2 separate regions of the Homo sapiens genome follow, and region 1 is linked to region 2. Evidence: promoter capture Hi-C in human tissues and cell types (Jung and others, 2019). All regions are on one chromosome and are shown on one strand. The core of a region is centred on a gene start or on the middle of the fragment in contact, and the rest is flanking DNA. Distances in the headings are between cores, read along the strand shown. Region 1 holds the start of NCLN (nicalin). Region 2 holds the start of SH3GL1 (SH3 domain containing GRB2 like 1, endophilin A2).

Region 1 (6,620 bases), core at 3,882-6,381, 1.2 Mb after region 2:
GATCTCCCTGCTGCCCGCCACGCACCACGACGATCTCCCTGCTGCCCGCCACACACCGCGATGGCCACCTGAGTTGCCCTGGAAAGACCCTGGAGAGCACCGGCCCCTCTAAAAGGGCCACCCACGTTCAGCTGGGGACACGGACCTCAGTGGACCACCCCAGAAGCCGGAAATCCCAATTCTTACGTCACATCACCCAAATGTTAAAAGACAAGCAACGCTCTAAAACATCTCAGCGCTGCACAAGCCAACAGAATGCCACGCAAAGCCCGCAAGCAGACCTGACGCAGGGGGGCCGGGTACAGGCCTGACGCAGGGGGGCCGGGGGCGGGCCCCGGAGCCTCCCGTGTGAGACCCGTGCAGGAAGCACTCAAAATCACGATGCCCAGGACCGACTCCAGCGTCCCCGTGGGAGCCAGCCTCGCTCTGAAGGTGGATGCTGGATGCTGGGGACCCTCATTCTCTCATCTCCCCACAGACGCAGCTCTTCCCGGGGCCTGCGCTGAGCCTCGGGCTTGGGGCCAGGGGCGTGCATGAGTCCCCAGCTCTGTGTCCAGCAATGTGCTGTCTGGGAAGCGGTGGGAGGGAAGCAGCCTGCTCCAACGGGGTGTCTGATGGGCTGAGCTGGGTGCATGGGGGGACAGGCGGGACACAGGTCTCAGGTGGGAATGGGCGGGGTCTCGGGTGCAGCACAAGGAGGTGGGCACAGAGAACCAGCTCTGAGGCCTGGGATGGAGGAGCCACAGGGGCCCACGCACCCCAGGCCCAGCAGCCTCACCCCTGCTCCCCTCTCAGAGCCTGACATCACCAGGCCTGCTGGGAGCCTTTCCTCTGCCCTTGGGAGGCCCCTCAGGGACATGGCAGCAAAGACCTCGAGGGAGTCCTTGGGGCTCCTGCAGTGCTGGGAGCACCCCTCCCCTGCACCCCACCTGTCCCCACATGCCCTGGCCTCCCAGGGGTGACTCGAATGTCACCCCTTTGGGGCCGGGAGATGAGGCCAACTGGCAGGCACCCCCGTTCTCCGGGCCTCGAGCTCCCGCAGGCGGGATAGGGAGTGAGCGAGGAGGGAGAAGGGAAGGAGCAGCAGCAAGTCAGAGGAACGGAGGGGGACACCAGCACCCAGAGCTCCCTGAAGGCCACGGCCTCCCATTCCGAAGCCCCGCCCATCGGAGCCCCGCCTCGCGTCAGCACCAGCCAAGGCCACACTGCCCTCTGGATCCCAGCCCCCGCTCGCTCGGGGCCCAATGGCAAGGGCTCTCTGTGGCCAAGGCCCATCTCCCCAGGAGAACAGATGGCCTTGGGTGGCCCCAGCCTCCCTCGAGGGCCAGGGTCGGGCCGGGTGGCCACAAGCTAGTGTGGACACGGCCCTCTGCGGAGGCGAAACCAGCACCAACTCCCTCAGACCCGCGTCTGAATGGGCTGAGACCACTTGTGGTGGACGCCATGGAGGGCACCGGGCATCCTGAGAGAAGTCACCAGTTGGCGTGACAGGACTGGACCTGAACAGTGGCCTGGGCACCTGTCTATCTATCGGGGGCCAGACGGCCAACCTTTCCCCTCTCGGGCCATAGGGCTCTGGCACAATCACTGGGCTCAGCTGTTTCTGCGTGGAAGCAGCCAGCGACAAGATGCCAATGGATGGGCATGACCGCGTGCCGATAAAACTTTATTAACAACAACAGGCAGAGAGCCAGACGTGACCTACAGGCTGCAGTTAGCTGTATCCCAGATGAAGGAGTTTTGGCAAGTCTGATGGACTTGACGGGTCCTGGGAGCTGGGCGCTCCAAGGGGTGCTAAGGTTCCCACCTCACATGGGCCATAAGCTCAACGAGCCCCACCTGCTGTGAACGGCCACCGAGCCGAGAAAGCCTTCACCCGGCAGGGCCAGAGTCCACTCCCAGGAGAGGGGTGCTGTGCACCTGGCCAGTGAGACCCAGATCACACCCAAACACAAAGGGCACCGCCCCGCCCTGTGCCTCTCAACAGCAGCAGGAAGGAAGTTGGGAAAGGACTCCCCAGCGAGTAAGGGTTGCAGCTCCTCCGGGTAGTGGGCCCGGGGGTGAAAGCACACCGGGAAGATGGTGGTGGAGGGTGGCCTCAAAGGCAGCACGCTGGGGCTTCTCAAGGGCCTGTCCTCGGCAGGGCTCTGGCCCAAACCACCCCCAGTCTCTCAGGGGCGGCCAGAGTGACACAGAGGGGTGTGCTGGCTGGGCCTCGCCTACCCTGCGAGAGCTGGACTGTGCTTCCCAGGGCGCAGATGAGGAGCATGGAGGCTGAGGCAGGGCGGCTGCCCCATGGGCTCCTCCGCTCACCCCGGGAGCCCACGGACCAGCTGGGCGAATGCCACATACAGGGAAAGCTGCGTCCAGCTTCCTCACTAGGAGAAAGAAAAGCTGGGGTCCAGGGAGGAGGGTACAGGGGAGGAGGCCAGTGAAAAGAAGACTCAGAAGAAAACCCAGGATTGTGGGCAAAGGCCCCAGAGAAGCGAGGAAAGAGAGAAAGGACTGCAGGGGAAAGGGAGGGAGGCGCCACCAAAAAGGGGCCGAGGGAATCGGGGAAGGAAAACGGGGTGAACGTCAGGAGGCTGCGAAGAACAAGAGGCCACACAAGGAAACTGGGAGGGACTCTAGGAGGCTGGAGAGGGCGTCCGTCTGGCCGTGGAACGGGGAGACATCTGCTCACTCGATAGACAACATGCATTCCCTGGGCGGACTTGCGGGGAGAGAAAGGGGGCCCACATCTGCCCAGGGACAGTGTAGGGAGCCGCCAACATGCATTCCCTGGGTGGGTTCTTGGGGAGAGAAAGGGGGCCCACACCTGCCCAGGGACAGTGTAGCAGCCACCAGATCACACCTGCCCGGGGGGCTGGAGGGAGGCCGGGTGAGCTGGAGGACCAGGCAGGAGATGCCAAGAGTGTGAACAGGGTATCTCGAGCTCTAGGAGTGGGGTCTTTGGGGTGCAGACTGCCCTGGAAACCCCACGGAAGCCGCTATGAGAGCCGCAGGCACGCGTGGCTACTTGCGTTTATTACCCTCAAGCAGCGCTGAAAATCCTGCCCCCCGGTTGCACAGGCCACGCTTTGGGGGCTCGGCAGCCTCCTGTGGCTGCTGGCTCCTGTGCCAGGCAGCAAAGATGGAGGCGATTCTACAGGATGGTGCCCGTCAGGACCCTTCCCCCGGGAAAATCCCAAGCAGCACGGAAAACGCGGTCACTGCATGAGGAGCCTCTGGCCTTCCACTCCCACCCTCCAGAGCCTGGGCCTTGGGTTTATACACCACCACTGTGGCCCCAGGGCGCTTCCCCTGGACACTGTGGACATTAGGGCCGGATCGTTCTCTGGGGTGGGGCCGTCCTGGGCACTACAGGGAATTGAGCAGCGTCCCTGGCCTCCACCCACTCCATGCCAGGAGCACCCGTGGTCGTGACAACCACAGATGTCCCCAGACATCACCCAGCGTCCCCTCGGTTGACAACAATGGCTCTAAGTAAAAAAATCGTAACTCTGGGGCAAAATGGGACCTGAGGCCAAAGTCTGGTTCCATCTCCAGAGATGGGCTCCCCAAGGGCTGGCAGAAGCTGGGGGTCCCCGCGCCTCAGGTTGAGCCTGAGATGTGACGAGAGGGACCAATCCAAGAGAATCCGGGCTGGGAACTAAGGGGGCCAGGAGAACAAGCGGACGGGACTCCTTCACAGGGAAGGCCAGGCCTTGACTTCCAGGGACCTGAGGGGCCAGGCTGAAAAGAAGAAAAACCAGGGACCAGGTTCTGGAATGTCAGGGACAGCTATAGCCAGGCAAAGACAAGGGGATGTGGAATGGTCTAGACACTGGGGTCAGGGCCACGACGGGAGGGGGCGAGGCTGTTGAGTGGGAGACTTGCAGAATGCAAGGGCAAGGGGGTGCGAATTTGGAAAGGGAAGAGGAAATCCTGGAAAGATGGAACAAGTGGGGTTCTGGGAAGTGGGTGTGAGGAGGCTGAGCTGAGGGCGTGGGTATGCATCAAAGGCGGGACAGAAAGGGGGTCAAAGGGAACCCCAGGCGAGTGGACTGAACTGGGGACGTGGGAGGAGACCAGGGAAGCTGGGCTAGCAGATTCTGAAACATGACTCACGAACTGGGACCAGAGAGCGTCAGGGGTCTGGGGACAAATGTGCCCTTGACGTGGGGGCCGGTGACTAGAGCGAGAAAATTCAGGGGAGTTGAATTTGGGCACTGGACAAAATGCACTTGGCACCCAGGGCCGTGGGAGGGGGTGGGGAATGCTGGACCACCGCGTCGGGTGGCTCAGCCTGGCAGAAATCAGTGCAGGGACCTTTAACTCCAAACGCAGTCAGCTAAAGGCGAGAGGCCTGGGAACACGGACGTGACCCAGTGAATCCAGAGACCAACCAGATGGTCTCCAGAACAGGACCCTGGGAGCTGGAGGTCAGGACGGGAGCGTCTGCTCAAGTGAGCCCGGACCAGGAAGCCTAAGGGGCGGAGGGGGCCCAGGAGGGAGAAACTCGGCAAGGCAGGCAGACGCCGGCCCAGCTGGGGACAGGAGAGAGGGGACTTAGGGCTCCAGGGACGCGGGACGCTTGGCCCGGCCATGGGTTCCGGGGCAGGGAGACCTAGGCAGGGGCCGGGGGCTGTGGGAGCGAGCGCGGGGGGTCCCTGGGCGCTAGGCAAGGAGAGCAGGGATTCCAGGGCGCCCGGGGGTCCAGGGCGGCAGGGCTCTGCCTCGCCTGGGGCCTGAGCATGGGTCGGGCAGCCCAGGCCGGAGCTAGGGATCGGCCTGGGGATCGCCGGGCCGGAGTGGCGTGGCCGGGGAGCCCGGGGAGCCCCGAGGGTGGGCCGGGGACACGCACCGTAGGGCTGGCCCTGCAGGTCGTACTGCTGCATGCGGTACACGGTGAACTCGTGCGCGGCGTCGGCGGCAGGCAGCGGCGGCGCCACCAGCAGCAGCACAGCGGGCAGGAAGACGATGAAGCCGAGCGGCAGACAAGACGCCTTCAGCATGTTCTCCAGCACCTCGCCCGCTTCCTCCAGCATCCTGGCCGGCGGCGGGGCCGCGCGGGGCGGCAGCTGGGACGGGACGGCGGCGGCGGCGGCTCCCGCGGACTCACCTCGGCATGGGTAGCCGCCGGGGTCCTGCGGGCGCCGCGCGGGGCAGCCCGCACTCGCCCTGAGGTCCTGTGGGCACCGCGGCGAACCGCCCCGCCAGCCGCGCTGCCTGTCGGGAATTGTAGTCCGTCCGTCCGGCGCTCGCGGAGCCCTGTGGGAGTTGTAGGCCCACTCTGGAACTCCCGGAAGGTGCGGCAGGCTGTTCGGCTAATACCGTTGAGGTTTCACATAAACTCCAAGTCATAAAATGCAATAAAATGCTTTAAAAAACTATTTCGCGATATCACTTTCTTAACCTTGTCTTTGGCGTTGGGGGAGCTAGGGTGAGGGGCGAAAGGTGGGGACAGGACGTGACCTTGCGACCTGGAAGGAAGTTGGGGATAAAGAGAAAAGGAAGTGCCTGCCTGGCGCGCTAGGTCTTCTGGGAGTTGTAGTCCCGTCAAACACACAAAGGGTCACGGGAACTGTAGTCGTCCTGGCAGAAATTGCTGAGAAAAACAAAAATCACTTAAAACTCCCGAGGATGTAGATGTCAAACTCCACGAAGGCAAAAACTTTTGTCTGTTTTGTGCATATGATGTATCCCCGGCATCTAGCACAAGACCTGGCGCACGGCGGGTGGCCTATACCATTTTTGAATGAATGAATGAAAAATAGAAAGTCATGATAGTCAGTTCCTAAGGGAGGCCGCAGTGGGTTGTGGGACTTGTAGTCTGGAACCTGCGGTTTGTGCAGGGGTCGGTGGCAGGTATTTATATTTATCTTTATTCATATTTGGGGCATACTTATACTAAAAAAGTATTTGTTGTTCATCAGAAATTTAAAGTTAAAACCCAGTGTCTCAGGGCTGGAGGTACCTAAGGAACGTCCCTTTGTACAGATGGGGAGACTGAGCCCCAGGGTGCAGCAGACAGTAGCCCTGGCTCTCAGCACGTTATCATCCCAGGCTCCGTACAGCTGCCTAAGGAGTCAGGGCTTCCTTTCTGTCCCAAGTGAGAAGTGGCATTGGTGCCGATTAAGAGCCTGGGCTCAAATCCCAACTCCTCCATTTCCCAGCTGTGTGGCTTTGGGCAAGTCGCTTCACCTCTCAGAGTCTCAGTTTCCTCAGATATAATGATAAAGAATCAAGCACTCTCCCTGCCAGCAGCATGTGAGAATTCTGTTTGTTTGTTTGTTTGTTTGTTTGTTTTTGAGATGTAGTCTCTGTCACCTAGGCTGGAGTGCAGTGGCTTGATCTCAGCTCACCGCAACCTCCACCTCCTGGGTTCAAGCAATTCCTGTGTCTCAGCCTCCTGAGTAGCTGTAAATTACAGGCGTGAGCTACCGCGCCCGGCTAGAAAGGGAGTTTCTGAGTGTGCTGCTGGGTCACTGAGCACCTACTGTGTGCCAGCCGTGTGGTGGGTGCTGGGGACACAGCCGGGACCCCAGCAAAGCCACACTATCCACCGACACGGAGCTCGAAGTCCAAAGGAGGAGGTGGATTGTGTGACCAGGGGTGATGGGAGCTGGGATAGAGGA
Region 2 (5,865 bases), core at 2,941-5,440:
GCTTGGCAAAACCTAGTTTAGTTATTTTGGTTAATCTACGTATGTTTTGTAAGCATTACATAAAAGTGAGTACTTTTTAAAAGCAGACTGGGGCTTCCTAAAAAACTCCATCGTCCATACATGAAACCACCCCTCACCCACCGCCCCAAGCTTAGTGAATAAGAAAAGGTACTGAGAAAATTCATGTTTCCTTTCTAGCCACTTCAAAGAAATAAAGACAGTATCATTCTCAAGTGTCCACTTACCAAAAGCCATGGATTTCTACCCCCTAACTGAAGGATATGATTTTTAGTCACTTAACTTTATTTTCGAGACAATCACAAAAATCTATTTGTGTGGCTTTGAGTCACTAGCTTTGGTGCAAGTGGAACAGAAACAACCTCATTAAAAACAGGACCCACCCTCATTAAAAAATCTTGTATATAAAACGGGACACTCCCAATCCAGAGATCCAAAGATACACACGATTAACACATATGTGTGTATAAAGTTACTAACTGCTCTTTATTCTGCGATTACATCCTTTCTAATTTTATTTGGCACTAAAATATACTTTCCTTTCATGATAGCATGGTCCTAGCGAGTAGCGATTTTTTTTTTTAAAGTTAAATATCCTGGCCAGGCATGGTGGCTCATGCCTGTAATCCCAGCATTTTGGGAGGCCAATGCAGGTGGATTACCTGAGGTCAGAAGTTCGAGACCAGCCTGCCCAACATGGTGAAACCCCGTCTCTACTAAAAAATACAAAAATTAGCCAGGCATGGTGGTGCAGGCCTGTAATCCCAGCTACTTGGGAGGCTGAGGCAGAAGAATCGCTTGAACCAGAGAGGCAGAGGTTGGGCAACAGAGCAAGACTCAGTCTCAAAATAAATAAATAAATAAAGTTAAACATCCTGACTTAAAACATCACAGCTCCACGACAGTACCAACTTTATATTAATTTTATGTCTCCGGGAAATCCCACAGGCTAGAAGGAACTACAGCCATGATTTTCAGCCAAGGCGGAATCTGCCCCATAGGGGACACAGGGCAATGGTATTTCTGGCTGTTACTAAGGCATGGTGAGAGGGGCTGCTACTGGCCTGCAAAAGGCGGAGGCCAGGGATGATGCTTAACACCCTGCAGTGCCGTGCCCAGGACGGCAACAAATATCAACACTGCTGAGGCTGAGAAACTGGACTGGCGTCCATTCTAGCCCTTCATTCGTTCACGTTATTTACTGAGCACCTACTATGTGCCAAAGCGTAATGCCAAGTGCTGCCAAAGCGTTATGTAATGCAGAGTCCAGCAAGGGAGAGGGACAGTCTGGTCTTCCTTGGTTCACCCTCCCACGTTTCAGGAGGCCTGTGGTGGGCTCCAAAGACCCCATTCCAAGGCACACGGAGGAGGAAGTCACGGTGCATATCAGGAAGGAGCAAGAACTCGGGAGTCCCACCCTCCTGGCCATCTCTACCATCTGGGCCTCTTCTTACCCGGGCTTACCCCGACCCTCAGCGGCATCGGTACTGGTCCCCGAGCCCGTGCGACCTTGGGCCTCAGTTTCCCCACCCGCTGCAAGGTCCAACATGGTCAAGGGACACAAACGCATCCAGTAACCTGCAGGGCAAGCCCTTTCGCTTCCCTGGGCCTCAGTTTCCCCTCTCGGCCCCTCCGACCCACCGCCCCAGAGAGTCCTGGAGGGACGAACTGACGCAAAAGCGCCGGAAACAAACAATATGGTCGCGGCTACAACAATAACGTCAACAAGGGTGCCCTTGGGGACGCCAGGCCCTCGCTGGGGATGAGAAGGCCCCAGGGGGTGAACGCCCGGCCCGCAGGACCAGGCTTGGCGCCCGGAGGCCCGTCCGCCTCCCATCGCCGCCTCGGCCCGTCCAGGCCGCGCGCCGCGCCCCCCCTTCCCCTCGGCGCGGGCCCGAACCGACCTGTGGCGGCTCCCCTGGCGCCGGGCGCCCCGCACTCCAGCTCCTCCAGCATCGCCCCGGCGGCAGCTCGACCTCCTCTCAGGCGGCGGAGGCGCGGGCTCCCCTCAGGCGGCCGCTGCTCTTCGCCCTCCCGCCCGCGCCGCTGCTGCCGCCGCGGCCGCCGCGCTCGTATTTGGCGGGAACCGCGGCGACCCCCGCAGTCCGCGCGCCAATTGGGCGAGCCCGGGTCACGTGACGGCCCGCCTCGGGAATTGAGGGGCGCCGGGGGCATCCTCGCGAGATCCGTGACTTCCATTCCTCCCAGGGCTCGCCCATTGACATATCCGCGAGGGACTGGGCTTCCCCTCGGAGGCCTGTCATTGGCTGGGAGGAGCTGCCCTGCGATTGGAGGAAGGAGGTGTCAAGCTCATTGCTCTGCGCTGCGACTGGCTGATCGCGTGGGATAGTCCCTAAGAGGAGGGAGGCCCAGGCTCTTACGTCACCAGAACATTTTACGCAAGGCGCAGATGACAACTTGAAAGTGGGATTTAGATGAGGAACCTGGAGTTTTGAGTTTATCCTAATGGGACATCGGCTAAATATAGCAACAGCAATTAAAATTATAAATTGCTTTCTACAAGAACAATAAAACGAAGTCTGGGGAGCGCTTCGGAAGTATTTGACATTCAGTAAATAACATGTAGAATGAGTGAACGAAATGGACGAAATGGATCGTTTCTGGTTTAATCCTCAGGAAATTGGCACATGCTGTTTTCTCTGCCTAGAACAATCTTTTCGCAGCTCTTTTCCTGGCTAATTTATACTTTTCAGATCTTAGATCGTCACCCCAGGAAGCCTTTTCTTCCCCAACCCTGACAATATCAAGTGCCTACAACACTGTTCTTTTCCTTAAAGCAATTACAGCTGTGTCTATTTATTAGTTTGTTATTTGACTAATGAATTAATTTCTGCCTTTTGTCATTAGTTCTGGCGAGGGTAGGACTCATTCCTCACTGGAACCCCAGGACCTGTTAGTAACTGATCATATTTACCAGGTCAATAAATGTTTGAGTGAATGTATAAATATTTGATTGAACTGTGTAGATCAAGCAGATTAAAAGCCTCACACAAAACAGAGAACTTCAGTGTCAGCCTGTGAGTGTAGAAACAGGTTTTCTTTCTTTCTTTCTTCCTTCCTTCCTTCCTTCCTTCCTTCCTTCCTTCCTTTCTTTCTTTCTTTTTTCTTGAGACGGAGTCCCTAGTAGCTGGGACCACAGGCGCCCGCCACCACGTCCGGCTAATTTTTTCTATTTTTTAGTAGAGACAGGGTTTCACCGTGTTAGCCAGGATGGTCTCAATCTCCTGACCTCGTGATCCGCCCACCTAGGCCTCCCAAAGTGCTGGGATTACAGGCGTGAGCCACCGCCCCTGGCCCTGAATTGCATTCTAGAAGCATCTTTCTGGCTGCCATGACAAGGAAGAATTGGAGGGGAGGACTGGTGGAAAGTATGGTCAAGGCATGAAGACAGACCTAGATGTCTAGATGTGTCACGTGGGCAACTGAATGGATGAACACAGGACAGAGAGAGAGAGGAAGAGAGGTGGCCGGGCACGGTGGCTCATACCTGTGAGACCAGTACTTTGGGAGGCTGGATTTGGTGGGGGGGTTGGGGGTTGGATCACCTGAGGTCAGGAGTTCGAGACCAGCCTGGCCAACATGGCGAAACACTGTCTCTACTAAAAATACAAAAATTAGCCTAGCATGGTGGTGCGCGCCTGTAATCTCAGCTACTTGGGAGGCTGAGGCAGGAGAATCGCTTGAACCCGGGAGGCGGAGGTTGCAGTGAGCCGAGATCACGCCACTGCACTCCAGCCTGGGAGACAAAGCAAGACTCCGTCTCAAAAAAAAAATAAATAAATAAATAAAAATGGGAGGGGGCTGAACACTTAGACGAACTGGATTTAGCTAAGATGAGTAAACAGGAATCTGAAGAATCGTAAGCAGGGGCCCCTTCTACTTCCCAACCTCCCTGGCCAGGTTTAAACTAAGCGCGTTTTCCAAGACGTTAGGGTCACCTCCACGACTCCAGGGGGCGCTGCAACTGCTACGGCCCCTCTAGGCTCGCCCCGCTCAACTCACTGACAGAGGCGGCCTCTCCCGCGGTAGACAATGTGCACGTGCGCTCTTCAGCCGGCAGAGGGCGCGCGTGCGCAGACGGGGCCGGGGGCGCGCGCGGGGGCCGGGGGCGCGCGCGGGGGCCGGCACCGGAAGCGTGCGGTTGCCATGTAATATCCTGGCCGCGCGGGCGCGCGAGCGGCTGAGGCGGCGCCGGGGCGGGCGCGGAGCTGGCAAGCGGGTGGCGGAGGCGGCGCCGACGGGGACTGCTGAGGCGCGCAGAGGGTCGGCGGCGCCCGGGAGCCTGTCGCTGGCGCGGTCCGGGCGGGAGGCTCGGCGGCGGGCGGCAGCATGTCGGTGGCGGGGCTGAAGAAGCAGTTCTACAAGGCGAGCCAGGTGAGCGCAGGCCCAGGCGGGAGCCGAGTACCGGGCCCCGGGCTGCCCGGATGAGGGAGCCAGGCCCGACCTGGCCCGGGAGGGGGCCGGGGGGACCGAGGTGGGGACGTTGGCGCGTGTCCCCTGCCAGGTGGGAAGACCAAGGGACGGACGGGGGCGACGAGGTGGCCCAGGCCCTGCCCGCCATGCGGGCTCCAGAAGCGGGGACAGAGCCCCTGGGAGGAGGGGAGAGGCACCCTGGGCTGCCCAGGGACGCGGACCTCTCCCCTCCTTCTCTCCGCTGCAAAGGCGGGGTGCGGGGAGAGAAGGGGAAGAGAGGAGTCCCGAGGCTGTCGACACAGGACTCTTGCCAGATAACCCAGAGCCAGGGAAAAGTTGCGTCTAGAGCAGTTACGTTCAAAATCCTCTGGATGGGCAAGGTACAAAGTTGAAAAGGTAGAGGAAGAAGTCAGTTTCCCCTCTCTGCTCCTCGGGCAGCCAGCCCTTCTCCCCAGAGACAAGCGACTGTCATCGACTCCGTATGTCCCTTTCCTAAGATACGTGTGTGCCTTTCCTTTAAAAACACGTACCCTGTGATAGCATATGCCACAGAATCCTGTGTGCTGTGTTTTTCATTGCTTGGAGATCACACTGGAGCGGGATTTCTCCCCCTCCGTCGGCACTGTTGACATCTGGGGCTGGATTGTTCTCCGTGGTGGGGCCGTCCTGGGCACTGCGGGGTGCTGAGCAGCGCCCCTGGCCTCCACCCACTCCGGGCCAGGAGCACCCCCAAGTCGTGACAACCAAAAATATCTTGAGACATCACCGTGTGTCCCCTTAGAATCAGTCCTCCTTCCCTCCCTTCGTTCCTTCCTTCCTTCTTTCCTTCCTTCCTCCCTCCCTCCTTGCCTCTCTCCCTCCCTCCCTTCTCTTCTTTCCTTCCTCCCTTCCTTTCCTGTCCCCCAGGACTACTGCTCTAGACCATACTCCACACTTCTTGGATTTTTTTTTTTTTTTTTTTTTTTGAGAGGGAGTCATGCTCTGTCGCCCCAGCTGGAGGGCAGTGGTGCAATCTCGGCTCACTGCAAGCTCCGCCTCCTGTGTTCAAGCAATTCTCCTGCCTCAGCCTCCCCAGTAGCTGGGACTACAGGCATGCGCCACCACGCCCGGCTACTTTTTGTAATTTTAGCAGAGACAGGGTTTCTCCATGTGCCCCAGGGTGGTCTCGAACTCCTGGCCTCAAGTAATCCGCCTGCTTCGGCTTCCCAACATGCTGGGATTATCGACGTAAGCCACCTGCCTGGCCTACTTGGCTCTTTTTAATGGGTACATTGTATTTCATTCCATGACATATACCATAATTTATTTAACCAGTTGTCAGTTGATAGATATCTCTATTGTTTACCGGAATTTTCTGTTACCATTACTACAATAAATAGCCAGTGAATATCTTTGCTCACCAGTGGGATTAGT

What was found. The method cuts DNA at HindIII sites, captures the fragments that hold promoters and counts their contacts. A contact is called where the count stands out against the background at its distance.
Region 1: a contact is called between the fragment with the promoter of NCLN here and the fragment with the promoter of SH3GL1 in region 2, in 1 of the 25 tissues and cell types used here (lymphoblastoid cells).

Annotation. Positions count from the first base shown.
Region 1 is chr19:3,184,441-3,191,060 of GRCh38, reverse strand. NCLN (nicalin) reads right to left here and starts at 5,131. Exons shown (of 15, transcript NM_020170.4): 1 at 4,847-5,131. The coding sequence starts at 5,030. RefSeq lists enhancers at 709-1,212, 1,213-1,716, 5,725-5,864, 5,171-6,053 and a silencer at 4,645-5,214. The HindIII fragment of the contact is 11,170 bases long and covers 1-6,620 here.
Region 2 is chr19:4,398,872-4,404,736 of GRCh38, reverse strand. SH3GL1 (SH3 domain containing GRB2 like 1, endophilin A2) reads left to right here and starts at 4,190. Exons shown (of 10, transcript NM_003025.4): 1 at 4,190-4,413. The coding sequence starts at 4,369. CHAF1A (chromatin assembly factor 1 subunit A) reads right to left here and starts at 2,097. Exons shown (of 15, transcript NM_005483.3): 1 at 1,923-2,097. The coding sequence starts at 1,974. RefSeq lists enhancers at 944-1,639, 1,640-2,337, 4,000-4,829 and silencers at 1,850-2,129, 4,092-4,601, 4,662-4,711. The HindIII fragment of the contact is 35,642 bases long and covers 1-5,865 here.